Linked DNA regions of Homo sapiens: region 2 is linked to region 1. The links are contacts of gene promoters, found by promoter capture Hi-C in human tissues and cell types (Jung and others, 2019). All regions are on one chromosome and are shown on one strand. The core of a region is centred on a gene start or on the middle of the fragment in contact, and the rest is flanking DNA. Distances in the headings are between cores, read along the strand shown. Region 1 holds the start of MAD1L1 (mitotic arrest deficient 1 like 1). Region 2 has its middle 9.6 kb from the start of ZFAND2A.

Region 1 (4,394 bases), core at 1,770-4,269:
CCTGCCCGGGCCCAGGGTCTCCCCAGAGCAGACTCCCACCCAGGCACATGCCACTCACCTGCATGCTCTGCTGGTACTGCATCTGCAGAGAACCTGGGGCCGAGGTAGAAATATCCAGTCCAGAGCCTCCCTCCACACGCTGAGAGATGAAGTTGTTCAAAGATCTCAGGGTGGATAAAACCATGGTGTTTTCCCCCAGGTCTTCCATGGTTGCTTTCCTTCCGGGGACAGACAAAGGACTGGTCAGGGGCAGCCTTTCCACGTGCCATCAGCCGTGCAGTCAGCAGAGCCTCTGGACAGCCCCACTCCCCTAACGCACATTGGAGCTCATAATACACCCATGCCTGTAACCACATTCTTCAATGGCAACTGGGAGCCATGCTGCCAATTTACCAGACAAAAAATGGAAGCAAGGAAGCATGCCACCAAATCCCCACCAGCAAGCCACCAATTGAGTCTCAGTTGCACATGGACAGATGGACAGCTGGCGCCCGGGAGGCGGGGCTCAGCACTCAGGTGGCACGTCCCCCAACTGCACTGTAAGAGGGTTCTCCAGAGACACAGAGCCAACAGGACACAGAGACAGACACAAGAGAAGGGCTTTATTGGGGAAACTGACTCACGCGATTACAGAGACTGTCCCACAACAGGCCGTCTGCAAGTTGGAGCCCTGGAAGCCTGGCAGTGTGACACAGTCCAAGTCTGAAGGCCTCAGAGCCAGGGGTCCGATGGTGTAATTCTCAGTTCGAGGGGCTGCTGGGACAAGTCCTGGAGACCAAAGGCCGGCGAGCTTGGAGTGCTGCTGTTGAGGAGAGGAGAGGAAGAGTGTATCCCAGCTCCTGCAGGCAGATGGACACATTCGCCTTTTCTCTGTTTTTGTCCTCTCCAGGCCCCCAGGCTCTTAGATACTGCCCCTGACTCTGAGGATGGATCTTCAGCACCTGGTCCACTCAGACTCCCAAGCTCATCTCCTCTGGAAACACCCTCAACAGGCACACCCAAAACCAAAAATGATGCTTTCCCAGGTTTCTAGGAATTCCTGAATCCAGTCAGTTGATGCCTGAAACTACCTACCAGGAGCACTCACAGCAAAGTCTGGCCTCTTGCCCAGGCAGGGTGGTTCACGCCTCTAATCCCAGCACTTCGGGAGGCGGAGGCAGGTCCGGAGTTCAAGACCAGAATGGCCAACATGGCAAAACCCCACCTCTAATAAAATACAAAAACTAGCCGGGTGTGGTGGTGTGCGCCTGTAATCCCAGCTACTCAGGAGGCTGTGGCACAAGAATCGCTTGAAACTGGGAGGCAGAGGTTGCAGTGACCTGAGACCGCACCACTGCACTCCAGCCTGGGTAACGGGGTGAGACAGTGTCTCAAAATAAATAAATGAATGAATAAATAAATAAATAAACATAAGCCAGGCACTGTTGCTCATGCCTGTAATCCCAGCACTTTGTGAGGCCAAGATGGGCAGATCACCACAGGTCAGGAGTTCGAGACCAGCCTGGCCAACATGGTGAAACCCCATCTCTACTAAAGCCAGATGTGGTGGCGTGCACCTGTAATCCCAGCTACTCCGGAGGCTGGGACAGGAGATTTTCTTGAACCCAGGAGATGGAGGTTGCAGTGAACTGAGATCGCGCCACTGCATTCCAGCCTGGGTGCCAGAGCAAGACTCCGTTTCAAAAAATAATAATAATTAATTAAAAAAAAAATCTGGCCTCTGGGAATCAGAAACGAGGCATGCAACAGTGACAGTAAAGATGATGATCATCACAGCTGTGCTCATTTTCATTGTTTATTTCTAGTGACATTAATAAGTACTACTACTATTTTCAACTAGGTATCAGAAAGAAAGGTATCTGACATTTCCGAGCACCGAGACTTCTTGAACTTCAGTTTCCTCATCTGTAAACTCATGACAGTGAAATCTACTTGCAAAGTTGTGGGGAACGGGGCCAATATCCCTCAAGTCTTCCACCGCTAGATGATGGGAATACGGCTGCAGGTTGACCAGCACTATATTTGTAAGCTCAGTCTCAACAGGGTGGTGAATTAGGTCTTTTTACACAGATTCTAGAGATGATGAAACCGAAGCTTCAAAAAGTTACAGAACGGAGATTGGAACTTGGGTCTGTCTGGCTTTGGAAGGCTGAAGACAAACCGCAGTAAAGAACTTTGCACCCCCAACACCGGCGCTTACTATGGGCTCATGGCAGGCCGGCCCACCAGCCACAACTAGGGAACAGCCAAGCGCGTTTAAAAGCCAAAGGTAGAACTTCTGCAGCTGCACAGTTTCTGAGTTTCCATTTAACAAGAACCTTGGCCTGGTGCAAGCAGAGGCCTGAGCTCCCCAGGCTGCCAGCCCCGCAGAGGCAGGCCCGCCTGGAAGGAGGCTCCACAGCCCAATTCCTCCATTGCCCAAACGAGATCAGGGTGGCCCTTGCCATCCCCGAGGGGAAACCGGGCCCACACGCCCCCTTCCTGAGAGCGGACCGGCGCGAGCCACCAGGATGCCAAGAGCCCCTGCAGCCCCGACTTCTCCACCAGGCGCCAGCTCAGGCCCCTTCCTCGGCGCGCCGGCACCCTAGCCCGGGGACCCACACGGTAGGCAGCGGGACCCCGGGGCTGGGACCACGAGCACGCGCCCCTCGGCCGCCCGCCCTGGCACAAGGGACGGCTGCGGAGACCCAGGCGAGGGGCCCGCTGTCCCCAGCACAGCCCAAAGGGGGAGTGGGGACAGGGGAGTGGGGAGAGGAGGGGAGAGCACAGAGAGGAGAGCGCGCCCATGGGAGACGGGGCGGGCGCGGGGTCCTGAGGCACGGGGTCTGGGTCGTTGTGCCCCACCCTGGCGAGCACACCCGGTCCGGGCCCTCGGCCCCTCCCTTGCCATTCCCGGGACCCCCGGGACCCCGGGACCCCGCCGCCCGCGCGAGCCGGGCCGCTTACCTCAGCCGCTCGCAGCCAGCTTGCCGCCGCCGCTCGGATCTCCCTCCGCTCCGCCGGCGCCCATTTATCGCGACACTTGCGCCTGCGCTCTCGCGAGACCTGCGTGGCAATCGGGCCGTAAAGAACCGAGTCTGCGCACCGGCTGATCCTGGGGACTCCGCGTCCGCACCCGGAGCCGCCACCCCTGGGAGACTCCGCACGGAAAGGACTCGGAACCGAAGGCTGAGCCAAGGCGCAGTCGGGGGCCCCCCGGCTTTGCGCAGGACGCGCTTCCACTAAGGCTTTCGCCTCGCGCCGTAATGTGTGGAATAGCCGCGCCCACGGCAGCCTCCTCGGACAAACTTGCACCGTTGACTCTTCCCAAAATTTTGCTACTCAGTATCAGCTTGAATCAATCCGTTATTTTGCTTTTTTCTGGGCCCACTAGAAATGCAATTTATGCTACTAGGCTACCTTCCCAGTGCTCTGCAAGCCAGGGCACAGCATCCAATGGGGTGAGGTCAGGCCCCACCATTATTATGGTAACCTTTGTCTATCCTTCAAATTGGAGCCTTCCTGAGAAGAGTGTGCCTTACTCGTTTCCATATTCTCTTCCTCTCCTCCTCCCGTCTCTGCCCAGCCCCTGGCTTCCCTCTAAGAAGATGCTGTTCCTAAGGGTCTGCAATGAATTTTCCTTCTTTCAGAGAAAGACTTCCAAGTTGTGTGCCCCGGGAATGAAATGGAATAAGAGAACGAGGTGGAGTAGGGCAAGAGTCCCTGGACTTAACAACCTGACTGCAACCAGAAATAAAATGAAAAGTCAAAACATCTGGCGGCCGGGCGCGGTGGCTCACGCCTGTAATCCCAGCACTTTGGGAGGCCGAGGCAGGCGGATCACGAGGTCAGGAGATCGAGACCATCCTGGCTAACACGGTGAAACCCCGTCTCTACTGAAAATACAAAAAAAAAAAAAAAAAATAGCCGGGCGTGGTGATGGGCGCCTGTAGTCCCAGCTACTCGGGAGGCTGAGGCCGAATGGCGTGAACCCGGGAAGTGGAGCTTACAGTGAGCCAAGATCACTTCACTGCACTCCAGCCTGGGTGACAGAGTGAGATTCTGTTTCTCAAAGAAAAAAAAAAATCAAAACATCTGACCCGCAGTTTCCTTCGGGGAGCTGGACAGAGCCCCAGATTCCTGATGGAGATTCCTGGGTTTCCAGACTTCCCCCACTGGTCCTTGGAATTTAATCATAGTCAACAAACTCTTCTTGAGGGATGAGTACACCTCCAGGAAATGGCTTTGAGGAAGCCAGTTTAAAAAAAACAAAACTTCAAAGCATGAAAGTACCTTAAAATAATGCAATCTCTATTATTTTATTAAATATAAAGCTGCGTCAAGTTCCTAGATGAGTAAAAGAAAATAAACACACCACATCACTGCTTGCTTTGGCAATTACATTTATGTTCTTG
Region 2 (4,339 bases), core at 1,542-4,041, 1.1 Mb before region 1:
AAGCCTCCCAGTGGGTGCCTGGACCCCACTCTACAATAAAGGCAACATGTAAACAATACCTTTAACAGTGAGATATAGATAGATAGATAATTTGGTATTATGTTCAAAGCCCAGTGTGTTTTGGATACTTTTTTTTTTTTGAGACAGAGTCTCACTCCGTGGGCCAGGCTGGAGTGCAACAGCACAATCTGGGCTCACTGCAACCTCTCCCTCCTGGGTTCAAGTGATTCTCCTGATTCCTGAGTAGCTGGGATTACAGGCACCTGCCACCATGCCTGGCTAATTTTTGTATTTTTAGTACAGACAGGGTTCACCATGTTGGCCACGCTGGTCTCGAACCCTGACCTTGTGATCCACCCGCCTCAGCCTCCCAAAGTGCTGGGATTACAGGCGTGAACCATTGCGCCTGGCCTTGTTTTGTTTTTTTTTTTTTTTTTTTTTTTTAATGAGACAGTCTTGCTCTCTGTGACCCAGGCTGGAGTGCAGTGGTGTGATCACAGCTCACTGCAGCCTTGACGTCTCCTGAGTAACTGGGACCACATGCATGCACCATCTGTCTGGCTATTTATTTTTTTTGAGAGACAACGTCTTACTACATTGCCCAGTCCTATCTCAAACATCTGGGCTCAAGCAATCCGCCCACATCAGCCTCCCAAGGTACTGCGATTACGGGCATAAGCCACTGGGCCCGGCTGGATACATCTCAGTTTGGACATTAAATTATCAGAACTTTGTTTCTCAAGACTTTAAAAATTAAAAACATTTTTTCATTAGAACACCTGATCTGCAGATTCACAGTTCACACACCCAGGTTCCTAACGTACCTGTTTTCCACTGACTGAACCAAGTTAGTGGTTTTTAAACTTAACCACACCGAACACTGTGCTGGCTGCGTTTTCCTTGCTCCACAGCACACGAGGCCAGAGGTGCTGCAGACGCAGGGAAGTGGCTTGTCCAAGTGCAGTCCCAGACCAGACGTGTCACCCGGGCAGCTCCAGGTGTAAACCTGAGTCCACCTCAGACCACAGAACCAGGGCCTCGGGGTGGGGTCCAGCACCCTCCCGTAAGGAGCCCTGTGTTTTGACACAGGCTAGGGCTTGGGAACCGCCGGCCTAGGACAGACACCATGAAATAAGCATAGCAACGGTCACATGTCACCCACCGTCAGGGATGTGCACGGCCAGGTGATTGCATTGTCGTGCAAGCATCCTACAGGGACTTACACAGAGCTCGATGGTGCGGCCTCCTCCACACCCAGGCTGTAGGGCATAGCCTGTGGCTCCCAGGCTACAAATGCGTGCAGAGTGCTACTGCGCTGAATGCTGTAGGCCACTGCGGCACGGCGCTGCGTGTTTGTGCTTCCAAACCTAGGCGTGGTGCGGTCCAGCTTGCTGGGAGGATTCCATCCCAGTGTTCTGTGGGACTGCAGGGTGACTAGCTTGTTCTTAAGTTTTTTTTTTTTTTTTTGAGATGGAGTCTTGCTCTATCACCCAGGCTGGAGTGCAATGGCACGATCTCTGCTCACTGCAACCTCTGCCTCCCGGGTTCAAGCGATCCTCTTGCCTCAGCCTCCCAAGTAGCTGGGATTACAGGCATGCACCACCACGCCCGGCTAATTTTTGTATTTTTAGTAGGGACAGGGTTTCATCATGTTGGCCAGGCTGGTCTCAAACTCCTCCAAATACCACAATGTACCCCATCAATATGTACAATTATGTCAATTAAAATAAAAGCAAAAAAGTTTGTCAGATTAAAAAAAAAAGATATAGTGAAAATACAGTATGTTCTGCGATCACCAACATATACACGGTCCGTCATCGACAGAAACATCGTTCCCCTGACTGCAGGTCTGACCACCTTTTTGCAGAACGCCAACAGAATACAAACCCTTCCCGTTACATTTTTAGATGGTGAAAGCAGAAAAAAAAAAGGCAGTGGCTTGTGTTTTTGTGAACTGTCTCAGCGGGACATCTGGTGGGCACAGCTGGATGGCCAGGGCAGTTCAGAACAGGACAGAACTTGGGGGAATTTTGTTTCACCTTATTCCCTGACACCCCCTAAGTTCCCAGGAAATCACTGCACTCTTGATGAGCAGAGCGGCTGTCAGTATAAATCTAACACCAGTATTTACGTTACCCGTGTTCATCACTTCACAAAATCAGACGGTGGTGGAAAGTGTCAGGCCACGAAGGCCGCATCTGTCATCTGAGCCACAAAGGACTGTGCACCTCACTACCCCCCTTCCCTCCCGTTTTGGCTTTCTGCTCTTCAAACCTATAAAACCCAGTCTCCTGTAATCTCTGGCACTTGTGGAAGCCCTAGTTCCTGCCATTGTAGTTTTAAGTCACTTCTGGAAGTTTCCACTGCTTCATCACTGGACAGAGCCATCTTCAACAGGTGGCATTTTGCAACTTTCTTGTTGGTGCTGAAATAGATCCAGGTGCAAAGCAGCTCTCGGGCTTGCTGGCTGCTGACAACTGTGCCTTTTTTTTTTTTTTTTTTGAGATTCAGTCTTGCTCTGTTGCCCAGGCTGGAGTGCAGTGGCACAATCTGGGCTCACTGCAACCTCCGCCTCCCAGGTTCAAGTGATTCTCCTGCCTCAGCCTCCTGAGTAGCTAGGATTACAAGCGTGTACCACCACCACACCTGGCTAATTTTTGTTTTAGTAGACATGGGGTTTCACCATGTTGACCAGGCTGGTCTCAAACTCCTGACCTCAGGTGATCCGCCTGCCTCCGCCTCCCAAAGTGCTGAGATTACAAGCGTGAGCCACTGCGCCTGGCTGAACTGTGCCTGTTTTAAGAAGTTGACCGTGGCAGGGACAAGTGGTCCAGGAAGACACACCTTCTCTCACACAGTGTCCCAGCCCCTTGGAGGTCAGGAACGGGCACGCAGCTGTGCCCTCAAACAATGCGAGTAGCACCTGTGGCCGCCGCTGGACAAGAACCCTCGGCCAGGCAGGTGGATGTCCTTCCCCCTTCTTGGCCAGATAGTCACATCGTTACAGAGGTGACATGGTGAAGAGCGCAAGTGAGCTGTCTGGTGTTTGCTGGTTTTGAACTCCTGACCTTAGGTGATCCACCCACCTTGCCCTCCCAAAGTGCTGAGATTACAGGTGTGAGCCACTACGCCCGGCCTAGTTTGTGTATTTCAGTGGGGAAGTTTCAAGGTTTCAGGCTAACCATCTTCACTAAAATATAAAAGATTAGCCGGGCATGGCAGTTTGGTGCCTGTAATCCCAGCTACTCGGGAGGCTGAGGCAGGAGAATTGCTAGAACCTGGAAGGCAGAGGTGGCAGTGAGCTGAGATTGTGCCACTGCACTCCAGCCTGGGCAATAGAGCAAGACTTCATCCCTTTTAAAAAAAAAAAAGCAAAGCCAGCCAGCATTGAAGCTGGGGATTCCCGTGAAGATGGCCCGGAGGTGCTGCTGGGCCATTAGAAGTATGGGGAGTACCTGAAGGCGGAAGTTACCTAGAGTGGAAATAACCCACACGGCAGTGCAAACGGGAAGGACCTCATCACTTTCCACCAAAAAGAACAAAGAACAGCTCTTTTCAGGTTTGTCTTGATGATGCAGGAATGTTGATCATGTCAGAGGATCTTGGAGGGCAGAAAAGGTGTTTCAGAAACCAGCTGTATGATGCTGCTGCTGCCGAAAGGTTGTGCTGGAGCGAGCTGCTTCTGTAACTTGGGGTCCCAGTCCTGTGTCCTTCATCCATCCTGACGAAGTCGCACCACTGGAGCATCGCGTCACACTGTGCAGTTACACACAGCAACCTTTCCGTGTTCACCAACCAAGAGCTGCAGCACCCCACACAGACGAAATTGCGTTCACATGAGCCGGGTGAACCAGTACCCGAGTCGCTGGGCCAGCCCGCCAGGAGCCAGGGTGAGGAAATCTCCCAACGGCCTGGATTCAGAGACTGTCATGGGTGAGCACCTACAGAGAGGGTGGATGGATCAGCTCAGCCTCCATGTGCTGACCGCAAGAACCCACACAGCTTCCTGCAGGTAAGCAACTACCACTGGCCTGGCCCAGGGATGGACGCCAGACACCACCAGGTGCAACAGTTGAGGCAAATACAGATGCTTCTCGATTTGACAAACATTAGCATTACGAGTTGAATCATGTCCCCACAAGACATGCTGGAGCCCTAGACTCGGGACCTCAGAGTGTGACCTTCTGTGGACACAGGGTCTTTTCAGAGGTCACGACTGTGGGATCACATGACCAGCATCCTTACAAAAAGGGGAAGTCGGGACACACACAGAATGCCATGTGAAGATGAAGGTGGAGACGGGGGTTGTGCATTGACGAGCCCCGAGATGCTGGGGAGA

The links. The method cuts DNA at HindIII sites, captures the fragments that hold promoters and counts their contacts. A contact is called where the count stands out against the background at its distance.
Region 2: a contact is called between a fragment that was not itself captured here and the fragment with the promoter of MAD1L1 in region 1, in 1 of the 25 tissues and cell types used here (dorsolateral prefrontal cortex).

What each region holds. Positions count from the first base shown.
Region 1 is chr7:2,229,926-2,234,319 of GRCh38, forward strand. It overlaps MAD1L1 (mitotic arrest deficient 1 like 1), which reads right to left and starts at 3,020. Exons shown (of 19, transcript NM_001013836.2): 1 at 2,947-3,020; 2 at 624-802; 3 at 59-218. The coding sequence starts at 208. It overlaps MRM2 (mitochondrial rRNA methyltransferase 2), which reads right to left. Exons shown (of 3, transcript NM_013393.3): 3 at 4,270-4,394. RefSeq lists silencers at 2,519-2,938, 2,916-3,294 and enhancers at 2,929-3,223, 3,009-3,138, 3,873-4,394. The HindIII fragment of the contact is 16,776 bases long and covers 1-4,394 here.
Region 2 is chr7:1,148,404-1,152,742 of GRCh38, forward strand. It overlaps a transcript of ZFAND2A not described here. Among named protein-coding and RNA genes, the nearest start is that of ZFAND2A, 9.6 kb to the right of the region's middle. The HindIII fragment of the contact is 5,994 bases long and covers 1-4,339 here.